4 separate regions of the Homo sapiens genome follow, and regions 1, 2 and 3 are each linked to region 4. Evidence: promoter capture Hi-C in 16 types of primary human blood cells and fetal thymus (Javierre and others, 2016). All regions are on one chromosome and are shown on one strand. The core of a region is centred on a gene start or on the middle of the fragment in contact, and the rest is flanking DNA. Distances in the headings are between cores, read along the strand shown. Region 1 has its middle 20 kb from the start of ST18. Region 2 overlaps ST18 (ST18 C2H2C-type zinc finger transcription factor). Region 3 overlaps ST18 (ST18 C2H2C-type zinc finger transcription factor). Region 4 holds the start of ST18-AS3 (ST18 antisense RNA 3).

Region 1 (2,931 bases), core at 389-2,888, 240 kb before region 4:
CGGTGGGTAAAATCAACTCCTCTTTCTACACAGGAAGACATACCTACACATGCAGCTCCGATTCCAGCAATACGTTGTCACCTAGTTCAACCTTGGAGAGAAGTGGAGTGGTGGGAGTGGTGTATTTTCCAAGATTTCAAGTTTATTTTTAAGTTGAGCATGTCATAGTCATTGAATTTGGCCACTGCAACAGTAGAGATGGTGGTGTGTGTGTGTGCACGCGCGCACGTGCGTATGTGCGCACACATGATTCATGCATAACACAAAAGTGAAAAATGCTATTTCTAGCCAGCATTTCTGAGAGAGCATCTTGGAGCAGCTGTAGATCAAGCAGCACTCCAACATGATAGGATAGAATGCCTCCCTGACCTGCACTCCTCTGCAGACTGCTTGGCTCTGTGAGCCCGCTTCATTTATTTCCTGTTGAGGTTAAGTCTCATTCCAGTCAGCTTGTTCATCTAATTTTGTGTTAAGAGAATTATGTTTTCATGCCGAGGAAATAATGCATCTTTAAATTTACCTTTACAAGTAGCTTTCTGAGTTTTCTTTCAGCAGCTTGGCTGGAGCAGTCTCATAGAGCATGGATCCTATGGAAGAATATGAGAAAGAACAAAATACAGTGTTTGCATTTAAGTTTACTATCTATCTAGAGGTGGAAAAGTAAGATTTTTTTTTTCTTTTTGAGATGGAGTCTCGCTCTGTCCCCCAGGCTGGAGTGCAGTGGTGCGATCTCGGCTCACTGCAACCTCTGCCCCCCGGATTCAAGTGATTCTCCTGCCTCAGCCTCCTGAGTAGCTGGGATTACAGGCACACGCTGCCACACCCGGCTAATTTTTTGTATTTTTAGTAGAGACGGGGTTTCACCATACTGGCCAAGCTGGTCTCAAATTCCTGAACTCACGATCCACCTGCCTCAGCCTCCCACAGTGCTGGGATTACAGGCATGAGCCACCGTGCCTGGCCAAAAGTAAGGATTTTTAAAAGCAACTCTTGCTATAGTTGAAATAAATGAGATTACAAGTGGTTTTCTAGTTAATCCTGATGCAAGGAACATTTCTGATTAAAGATCCTGAGGATCCTAAGTAAGGGGTGGCATCACAGCATCATAGGTTTGAGAGCTGCAGCAATGAAAACATTTCATAGCTTATGCCAAAGGAGGTAAATGATACACAGCACACAATGGAACACCAGAAGTAGACATGGACTCAGAGGGGGAATTGTGAATATATTAAAAAGAGCATTTAAAATTCCTGGTGAAGAGATTGTTTATGCAATGACTTTGTAGATACTTGTGGAAAACAAATATTGATATCTACCTTTATATCAAAATAAATTCTTGCTCGACAAAATTTTTATTTGATAGGCACAGAAACAGACATGGGATGATCGCTCCTGATGTGTTCAGGGAATAATATGTAAATTAGTCAAGCTGTGCAGTGGGATCAGGTTGGCACAGCAGATAGAGGCCCATTTGTAAAGAATCTTGAATGCAGGGCTTGAGAGTTGAGACTTGGCAGGGTGTGGCAGTGGGGAGATTCGCATGGAATCGTCCTGGGTGGAGCTATGGTCTAGGAGGATGCTCATTCTTTTCACATGCTAACCTGGTGTATTACATTCTTATATAGTATTATGAAGCTCCTAAGTACACTGTGATTTTAGAGTCTTTTAGCTCTTCTAGGAGAGCCTTTCATTTGTCTATTTAACATATCAAGTGAATGAAAACTTGCCTAATGGAATGTTATATAAACAAAATGCTTATTGGTGTTGTTTTTAGTTTTCTAAAGATCAGACACGGTGCTTGATTTTTTTCTCGGTAGTCTACTAGTTCCTGAAGAAGAAGTTTCTCATTTTATTCATCTCTATATTTACACTGCTTGTTACAATGCCTGGCACATCCAACAAACATTTATAATCGCCTTCTGTGCCAAGACACGAGTGCAGGAACTTAGAAAACACTGATTAGCATTTATTTTCCTCCAAGTTTTGAAGTCTGACGCAGTCCCTGCCCTTAACAGAGCCTGTGGCCCAGCAGGGGAGACCAGCAACTCGGTGAGGATAACTCCGGGATGGAAAGGCTCGACAGTGCCATGGGAAAAAGTGCAGGAGGACTGACTTTGGTCCAGGGTGAGGATCAGCGAAGAGTTCCTAGAGGAAGCGTCCTATATTCTGTGTGCCAGTCATGCGGTTCCTAATTCTCAACTCCAATGCTGTCCTCAAGGATCTGGGATGCTGGAGAAGGAAATCTGCAAACCTCGTTTGTCCTCAGACAGAGGATCCCTGTTAGCATCTACCAATAGTGGGGCCTATAGGGAAGGTGGCCAGCAGAACAGAAAGCAGAGTCGTAAGCCATCCTGTCAGCATGCCCTGGTTGGTGGCCGTTAACATCTTTCTTTTCTGGGCATTCCTGAAATCACCCTCCTGCGTCCCCTAAGAGGTGAAGCATGCCCCTCCTCAGGTTTTCACTCTGCTCTGTGGGATCCTCCTTTTTCAAGGAAGCACCCAGCCCCATGCAGGGCCCCATCAGAGCTTCCCACACTGAGGCTTTGTTCCTCCAGCCCTGGGGCAGGGAAGCTGCTTTCCATAGGCCTGATCTCTGGGCTATTGCAGCTGTTCACTCTTTTATTCCTCTAAAGCCTGTGAAACTAGTTCCCTGTATTAAATTCCTTCTGCTAAAACACCTAGCATGTTTTTTTCTGTTTTTTTTTGTTTTTTTGTTTTTTTTTTTTTGAGACAGAGTCTTGCTGTGACCCAGGCTGGAGTGCAGTGGCGCATCTCGGCTCCCTGCAAGCTCCGCCTCCTGGGTTCACAACATTCTCCTGCCTCAGCCTCCCGAGTAGCTGAGACTACAGGCGCCCGCCACCACAGCTGGGTGCTTTTTTGTATTTCTTTTAGTAGAGACGGGGTTTCACCATGTTAGCCAGGATGGTCTCG
Region 2 (3,001 bases), core at 290-2,789, 150 kb before region 4:
CAAAAAATTAGCTGGGCGTGGTGGCACACGCCTGTAGTCCCAGCTACTCAAGAGGCTGAGGCAATCGAATTGCTTGAACCCGGGAGGCAGAGGTTGCAGTGAGCCAAGATTGGGCCACTGCACTTCAGCCTGGGCAACAGAGCGAGACTCCATCTCAAAAAAAAAAAAAAGTATATATATATCAAGTGACACGAGAGGTGAGTATTGTGATGAAAATGGCATAGAAGGATGACAGAAGTCCCGTGATCTTGCCTCCCCCACTTCCTGTCTGGGAACATACAGGGTTTGTTGTAGTCTGTCTCAAAACTTTGAAAACAAGTTTTCAAGAGTTAGAAAAGGATTGTTTGGTTTGCAGTTGCTGCTGTTTCCAAATGAAGGATGACTGTACCTCATTTCACATTAAAATAGGGATGGTACTTGAGTACCCTCTGATGTTTGGGGCCATGACCTACAATTTCCTAGCTGTGGGTGTCTCTGCTGTCTAAATCAGACCTTGCATATTTGTACACAGGAGATCACCAGAATCGTTTGTCTCAAGGTCAAACACGTCACAGAAGTGTATTTCCCCTCAGATTTTTGGGAAACAGTCTCTAGTGCTCTAATCCACTGTGTCCCTCTGTCCGTCATAGAATAGAAGGATTGGGATACCTAATAAGAGCTTCTAATGCAAGGAGTTATTTTTCATGAGCATAATGATTAATTAAGTTAGAACCTCAAAGGATATTTTAACCCACACACTTTGGGTTTTCTGTCTTGGGAGACCTGGATGGCTATTGTCCCTGGTCCCTCCATGCTCATCCCCACACTTCCCACCCTGCTCCCTCCTCAGACTTCAGGCCGGGTTCTGTGATGGGAGGTCCTGCGGGGTGTGGAACAGGAGGAAGGGCGTGGAGTTGCTGTGTTGAATTCCTGATCCCTCTGTTTCTCCCTGCACAGTTGCTGTCGGGACAAGTGTGCCTATCTCAAAAGCTCCAGCCCCTGCTAGGGGCTTTCCAGACAGTCCTCCTCCTTCCCCCTGACCCCCTACTCTCCCTCCTTGCTCTGCCTGGGATATTCCATGATTCCTCACTGATTCCCACATCCTGCTCACACCTTTGCAGTCTCTTTATATAACACTCCTCACATTACCCGGCTTGAGCGTGCCATCTGTTTCCCACCAGGACCCTGACTGATACACAGAAAACCTAGATTTGTGAGTTGAGCTACACATTTGTGCTAGAAATCAGAAATTTGTTTTGCTTTGTACCCTATAAGTCAGATTGGTTTCCACTCAGTATTCTCACACTTTTATATTTGTCCCAGAAAACAAAGTTGAATGACTACTTAGGTATAGGAAAAGATGATCATTTTGTTTCAATTTAAAAAGCATTACCCTATAATATGGAGTGAGGACCTATTTTTAGATGGCTGGGTGGGATGAGCTCAAACTCTATGCAACATCTTTGAGTAAGTTACATTAACAGAACGTCAGAGTAATACATTATCATATTTTATTGGTTAGCAGTAGGTTTAGCTGGGAGAAACAAAAACTTAAAATACAGTGATTAATAAAGGTAAAAAGGCATGTCTTAATCACACGAAGGTTAGAAGGTTGGCAGTTCAGGACAGTTATGGCAGCTTTACCCCACAAAGCCTTCAGGACACAGGCTGTCTACCACGTCTCCACCAGTGGGAAGGATAAAAGGCAAAGAAGAAGGGAAGGGAGAAAGAAGAAGGAGATATTGTCAAGGGCTGCAACATGGATGAACCTGGAGGACTTTGTGATCTCCAGATTTAACAAAAAACGAGCAAGGCATGGAAAGGCAAATACGGTACAGTCTCACTCATATGTGGAATCCAGAAGTGCAGAGGAGCATAGTGGTGACTAGAGAATGGTTGGGGCGTGGGGGTTGGGCATGGGGGAGATGTTGGTCAAAGGGTACAAAACTTCAGCTAGAAGAAATCAGTTTGAGAGATCTATTGTACAATATGGTATTGTAAATACATTGCATCCTTGGAAAATGCTAAGACAGTGGGTGTTGTGTTCCCAGAACACAAATGATAACTATATCTAATAATAATATGTTGATTAGCTAGATTTAGTCATTTCACAATGTATATATACTTCACAACTTCATACTGTACATGATAAATATATACAATTTTTTTTGAGGTGGAGTTTTGCATTTTTTTGCTCAGGCTGAAGTGCAATGGCACGATCTCGGCTCACTGCAACCTCTGCCTCCCGGGTTCAAGCAATTCTTCTACCTCAGCCTCCCGAGTAGCTGGGATTACAGGCGCACACCACCATGCCTAGATAATTTTGTATTTTTAGTAGATAGAGGGTTTCACCATGTTGGCCAGGCTGGTCTCGAACTCAGGTGATATGCCCGCCTCGGCTTCCCGAAGTGCTGGGATTACAGGCGTGAGCCACCGCACCCAGCTGAAATATACACAGTTTTATCTGTCAGATAAACATTTTTTTAAAAAATAGAAGAAGACAGGACAGTGGTGGGGCATGTCTGCTGTTTTGAACCAAGATGTTCAGAAGCTGCCGATGCTTGGGCTTTCTCTTGTTCAAAGCAAAGCCTCATGGTCTTCCTTAGTTCCAATGAGGCTGAAAGATGCAGTCCTTATCTGAGGCATCCACTTGCCTTGCTCTTAACTGTAGAACTGAGAGAACTGGGGTTTGTAAATCATTTCTATAAAGGATCAGATATAAAATATTTTAGGTTTTGTGAGCCACATGTGATACTTATTTCTCCTCTCCTTTTCCTCCCCTTCTTTCATCTCTTCCTTCCCTTTCCTCCACACTTAAAAAATGTGAAAACCAGTTCGTGAGCCACTCAAAACCAGGGTGTAGTCCACATCTGGCTCATGGACCATAGTTTGCCCACCTCAGTTTCTTCATCTGTAAAATGAAAAAAATGGTGGTACACATCTATATTTAAATATATATGGTCTTAATATATGTCTACATTAAGATTAAATCAACTCATCTAAAGAAATTGGATTAGTGCCT
Region 3 (2,863 bases), core at 259-2,758, 210 kb before region 4:
ATGCTATATGTCTGTTTACTGGAATACAGGCACTGAGGAATCAAACTTCATGGTTCTTTCTTTGAGCCATAAGATTTTTTAAAATCTCTAGCTAATTTAGGTCACTGAAAATGAACATTATTTTGGACTTTTGAATGGGTATTTTGAAGGAGGCTCAGAAGGACAAATACTGCATTGGTCACTACGCAGTACTTGGGATTGTAGATGAGTTTCTTGAGCAAAGCATAATAACCACTTTTATTTGTTGGTACAATATATACACATAACGTTAGCACTATGACAAGATTGTTCTTCCAGTTCACATAGAAATTAGCTGTTGATTCTCAGGGTTGTACAGTTTTCTGTCTCGTGACTGTGGGTTAAGGAAAGCACTTGTAACTGGGGGAGAGCAGACAGCGAGGCTCACAGTGGTGTTCCAGTCAGGAAGAGCTTCTGATTTTCCGGCAGTTGGTGAATACATTTATTGCACACAACTTGGAGCCTTGATCTTTCTAACTATTTCAGATAAATTGCTGTCAAATTAGCAGGAATGGTCCCTTCAGATAAACCTAAATAATTTATGCCAAAGTAGTGATTCTCTTGTAAGCTATGTTCAGGTGGTCAAGATAAAAATGACATTCCTAGCAACATGGTCCTACATTAAATTATTCATAGTCCTACATTAAATTAGTTTGATGTTATTCAAAAATAACATCATTTTTCTTACTGACTTTGTAACCAAACTTTTTAGGTGAGACAGCGTCCTTAGTTTGTGGCTTTGCAAGTTATCTGGGAAAACCTGTATTTCCAACACGAAATAAAAGTAAAAATAAAAAATTCCAAATTAAAAAAACCTTTGCTTTGATTATACCTTTAAACTATTTGAATTAAAATTCAGCTTTGTACATCACCACATAGGAAATCCAGGCCCTTGAGCAATGTATTGATGAATTGGGGTGGAAATGGAGGAGGATGGAAACGATGGCGGCACTGGACTGTTTTCCAGAAACCATTTACACAGGCTCACCAGAAGAGGGCAGCGCAGAGCAATGAACTCTCCGAGGAGTTTCCAAACAGATGTCTTGAAACTTAAAGTGAAAATCTCTGCATGAAAGTAGCCGTTTTTGGACAGCGTCCTCCACCAAAACCATATATCTCTAAAATAATAATAAAACTCCCCAAACATGCTAATCTCGAAATGGGTCCCTCAACATGGAAGGATTGAGTTGCAAGGGACAAAATTTTACTTCCCTGTCAGAGATGTTTTCACTTCGATTATCCTTTTGATTTATTTTATTATAAAAGACTATGTGAAGTCTAGTATTAGTCATGTGCACAAATATTCATTATGCAGCTTTTTGGGGTGATTTTTTTGATAAAAATATTGAAAAAATCACAAATTCAGATTCGTGGAAGATTCCCTACGCAACACAGCGTTTGAAGCAAAATGCAGCTTAAGGAAGTTTCCCATTAAATCCATATTTCCTTGATGCAAAATGATATCACATTGTTTTACTTGTTAATTTTTTTCTTCTCAGAATTACCACAGAAAATATTTTTTGTTTTATAATAAAACACGTGATACTCTACATTGGACATACATTTTACACTTGAAATCTGGAAAGAAAAACCTACTAGACTGGAACAGAATTCCAAAGAACGTGAGGGGACAAATCTATGGAGACATTTATATTTTGTTTTAGGGTTATTATAAAACTCTAGTTTCATCGTCTATGCATAAATGTTTAGGGGATCTAAATATCTTCACTAAATTTTATTCTGTAATCGGAAAGTTGGCATTTAAGATGATCATTCTTATAGGCTAATTAGGATGATAAAATCCTTTCCTCTTTTCAAAAGTTCACGAACGCATAACAAATTGGAACTACTTTTACAAGCCGAGTGTCCCTCTTATGCCATTAGCTTTCTTGGATTTACCTTCTAGATGACTTTGGCTCCTGTTAACTTCAGATCTTTGACATATCAAGTATGGTTGTTTTCAAAGGTTTCCCAGGCAACTGCAACAATTCATCTGGTTCTAGTCAAAAGTGCCCTTGAACTCTCAGCTCACTTCCCTTCCCTGTATGAGTAATGTGTGTAGCAAAAGGAAAAACACCAAAGACTTCATGTAATGGCTAATGTGAATGATTTGGTGAAGAGAGGAATGGATTTCACAAAAGGATCCACTTGGATGTTAAGACCTCAGCTGGCTGCCTGCGGGTTCCCTTTGTCAAGCTCTCATTTGCATTTAGGGGGAAGGCCACAACCCACATCATGTGTTCGGGGTTCTGTTTAACTCTTCCTCACAGTTCCTAGGGCCCCAAACTCTTACCCTAGGTGGCCCCAAGGACTCCTTCAAGGCCAGATCGCTGGCCCGCCAGGGAGTGACTGCCCCCAAATCTCTGAGAGATGCCTCAGGACTCCAGCTGACTCACACACACGCTGACCTGTGAGAATCATTCTGTGCTTCTTGTTTCTCACATAACCCACTGGGAAGCAATGGTTGGAGTCTTGTTGCATTTTACTTACAGGAAGAGTTTTATAATTACCTCCCAAGAAGTTCCTGAAGAACAGAGGAGGGAGTAATTGGAATCTCTGATCCTGTTGTTTGTGAAAGGTTCCTCTGCTTTACATTAATTACATTCTGTGTTGCGTTTAAAAGAAAAGATTTCACCTCATCTAGGCAGACAGTGCAGTTAGACCATCACCTTTTTTCCCCTTTATTTTGACTCTTGTCTTCACAGCTAATTTACTAGTGACTAAAATGATGGCAAATAAGGCAATATAATATGGACAGCCTGCAAATCCCACTCATGGAGCTCTGTAAGTGGGAGCAGATTGCTGTCTGAGTACAGGGCTTCTGCAGAAGTCTCCCTATCAACTC
Region 4 (3,148 bases), core at 410-2,909:
TGAAATACTAAATGAGGGAACATTTTATTTTCTTCTAAAACTAGATGTTTGTGAATTTACAAAAAGTGGAATCTATGTGGTCTGATCACATGCTGAGATGATATATACAAATAAAGTACAATACTTGTATCCCCCATTATTGTGGCATTTCACAGCTCTTATTGTTTTACTTTATTTTTTGGTTAGAAATACAAACTTCAAGCAAAAAAAAGAGAATTTAGATTATTCACCAAGTTAGTTAAGGTAAAATTGAGGCACTTTAAACTCAATTCTATACATTTATTTAACTGGCATATGATTACCTTAGATGATTAAGGTGCTTCTGTTACTCAACCACATTTAATATTTTTTAGCAGATACAATCTATAATAAAACCCAGTACTTATCCAAGATCAATTAAGATGTTGCAATAATCTTCTTTAAAAGTTTTTTTAAGATTATTTTAAATATTCCTTCCTCAAATATAGTTATGATTTTGGTAAGGCAAATATTCATAAACTAAGTGAATTTTATTTTTATCTTTCTTTATGATCAAAATAAGATAATTTATGTTTAATTTTTCCTAATAGTTTTTAAGTTTTATAACACTGTTTGAAAAATAAATATAAAGTCACATATATTTTATTATATTATATACTCAAAAGAAAGTATTTTGAAGTATTACTCAAATTAAAATAACAGTGTGGGCTTTATTGAAGCCAAATTTACTAGCAAACAAAAATAGTAATAAATGTCTGTATCTGAATTCTTTCAGTATCTTGATTCTAAAATCCACATAATGTTCATCTCTTAGTATCTTCAATTTTCTAATTTTATCTTATTATATTCAACTTCTGCTCTTCCGGGTACATCCCTATGATCCATCATATTACGTTTTTGAAGAAGCCAGATCCTGTTTCTATATTGTATAGCTAATCCATGGCTATGCAGTAGCTGAACTGCTCTGTCAATCTCTGGGCACTTAAAAGGAGTTTGGGAGTGCCCAAATGATTTAACTAAAACATATTGTCTTTGAGTATAAATTGAAAGACATTTATTTATATTTTATATTGAATGGTATTTCAAATGTTGGTGTATAATTTTGTGTTTTAGCCGATGATTGAATAGTTGTTTCTTTAAAAACTTTGGTCCATGTGAGGATTAAATTATCTTTAAAATGATATGATTGTTCATGTTCTTGAAGAGTAGACTTTGGAACTGATCAGTTCATGATGTTGGAGTCATTCAGTCAATCTTTGTGTGGACCAGTTAGGGTTACTTGGCTCACCGGCTTCTGCTGGCTTACTTCTTGTCTCTTCTTTGACTGTCTTGCAAAAACACATCCTCAGTGGCGGGGAGCTGGGCAGAGAAGCCCACATGGATAAGGGAAGTTAGTCCCATCATCTGCACAGTAATGGGTGGTTGTTGATGGCTCTCCCGGAGGAAGGCAGTTCTCCAGATGCAAGACGCATGCTTTCACCAACATTCATCTTCATATGCTCACATCTGGGTGGGGCTCAACTTCAGTGGTCTTTCACTGAGCATGCTCCTAACACACAGACCTCATATTATGCACCAGAGATATAAAAAGGAGCAAGAAACAGTTTCTGTTCTCTTGTAGGTGTTTCCAGGTTACTGGGAAGATGATTATAGTGTAGAGAGATAAGGTTTATAATCAAGGTGAATGCCAAATGCCTTGCTGGCATAGAAGCAGTGTATTGTGACGCTGTCACTGGAATTACATCACAAAGGAAGGTCTATTCACCCAGTGTGAAGTGGCAGCTGGGGAACCCCACTTACCTACTATTACCTCACGATTCAGAGGAAATTTCCTGTTACTCCTCTCGTTGTTATTAAATTGTATCTTTTAATGGCTTGGTTATTTTATGAAAAAAATTCTGTGGTAGACGATATGCAATTAATTTATTATTTATAAAACTTAGTCCCAACTAAATGAGAAAAAAAAGCATTTATTAGCTTTGGCCTTACGGGAAAAAAAATTCTCCCCTTTTATAAACCTGACGTTATCAGATAACCTTGTCAATGGAATCAGTGTTCCATGACAGCAAACCAACCATCAATAAATAGCAACAACTTATTAGTCGCTGAATTTATGACATGAGTAATAGGAGAAGGCTTCAATTATAGGTTTAACTGTTGGACACACTGTAGCTCGGTAAACATGAGTGTGGTCACAAAGTTTCTAAGACATAGGTGAGAGAGTTGGCTCATGAAGTTCAGGGATTATCCTTACAGAATGAGCAATAGCTTCACAGTCCTCACTGGGTAAAAGTGAATTTGTCATTTACAGTGGCCCGTTAACTCTCTTAGGAATCACAAGGCCTATTTCAGATGAATGCACAAGACTGTAACTTTTCCCCAGGGTCCTGTCTCCTGATTTCCTAAAAATACAGTCCAGTTAGCCATGTACAGATTGTGTATCACGCAGCACAGCCTGCCAGGGAGCAGTACCTGTCAGATGTGAGGGAAGCGGGACTGGGCAGAGAGAAGTTGAATTGCAGTGCAGGTTCTATGGAAGGCTTAGCCAACTCTGCCAAGAGCTTTGGTGATAGATTCCTCTTCAGAGTCGGTCCTGCCTTGAGGCAAGTGTGAATATGGGCTGTCCCAGGGAGATGGGACTTTGGGTTAAATGGCTCTCAGGTTGAGGGCAATTTTCAGAAGTGAATTCAGCTAACGCCCATCAGCTCCCCACACTTTCAGCCAGTAGGGAAGATGTGTACCTTAGTCCTGAAGGGAGGAGGAGGTGCATACCATGGTATACACAGACATCTACACCTTTCCAGCTTGAATCCTTTTATACTTGCTTTGTATATTAACTTCATTATCTACCTATACTTCTACCCATTCCCTTCATCCTTGCCAAGTTCCTCTGCTGATCTAGACAGTTTACTTGGTTGCACGACTCAGATCCTTTGAGCCCTTGGTCACCATGACCTTCAGATTCTCTGCCTGCTAACCTGTTGATTTGCTGACAAGTTTGGGCCAGAAACAGTAAAGAGATACCCCAGTGGATCACTTGGGTGCTATATATATCCTGTCCCAATATGTAATAAGCCCCCAGCCCTACAACTTCCAGTGACCAGGGTCAGTGACTCCTGCCAGGACGGTATCTATTTTCCTTGCCTGTTATCTCTCAGCAACAAGAACC

The links. Contacts are between HindIII fragments. The CHiCAGO score rates a contact against its expected background, and 5 or more counts as called.
Region 1: a contact is called between a fragment that was not itself captured here and the fragment with the promoter of ST18-AS3 in region 4, in 1 of 17 cell types (total B cells). The highest score is 5.2, in total B cells.
Region 2: a fragment that was not itself captured here is called in contact with the fragment with the promoter of ST18-AS3 in region 4 in 1 of 17 cell types (naive B cells); the score reaches 6.3 in naive B cells.
Region 3: a fragment that was not itself captured here is called in contact with the fragment with the promoter of ST18-AS3 in region 4 in 1 of 17 cell types (naive B cells); the score reaches 6.7 in naive B cells.

The regions. Positions count from the first base shown.
Region 1 is chr8:52,428,473-52,431,403 of GRCh38, reverse strand. No RefSeq gene overlaps it. Among named protein-coding and RNA genes, the nearest start is that of ST18, 20 kb to the right of the region's middle. The HindIII fragment of the contact is 6,015 bases long and covers 1-2,931 here.
Region 2 is chr8:52,347,894-52,350,894 of GRCh38, reverse strand. The region is part of intron 2 of ST18 (ST18 C2H2C-type zinc finger transcription factor); the gene reads left to right. Among named protein-coding and RNA genes, the nearest start is that of ST18, 60 kb to the left of the region's middle. The HindIII fragment of the contact is 4,159 bases long and covers 1-3,001 here.
Region 3 is chr8:52,405,951-52,408,813 of GRCh38, reverse strand. The region is part of intron 2 of ST18 (ST18 C2H2C-type zinc finger transcription factor); the gene reads left to right. Among named protein-coding and RNA genes, the nearest start is that of ST18, 2.4 kb to the left of the region's middle. The HindIII fragment of the contact is 6,295 bases long and covers 1-2,863 here.
Region 4 is chr8:52,192,873-52,196,020 of GRCh38, reverse strand. It overlaps ST18-AS3 (ST18 antisense RNA 3), which reads right to left and starts at 1,659. Exons shown (of 2, transcript NR_134310.1): 1 at 1,268-1,659. All of the region lies in intron 8 of ST18 (ST18 C2H2C-type zinc finger transcription factor), which reads left to right. The HindIII fragment of the contact is 4,332 bases long and covers 1-3,148 here.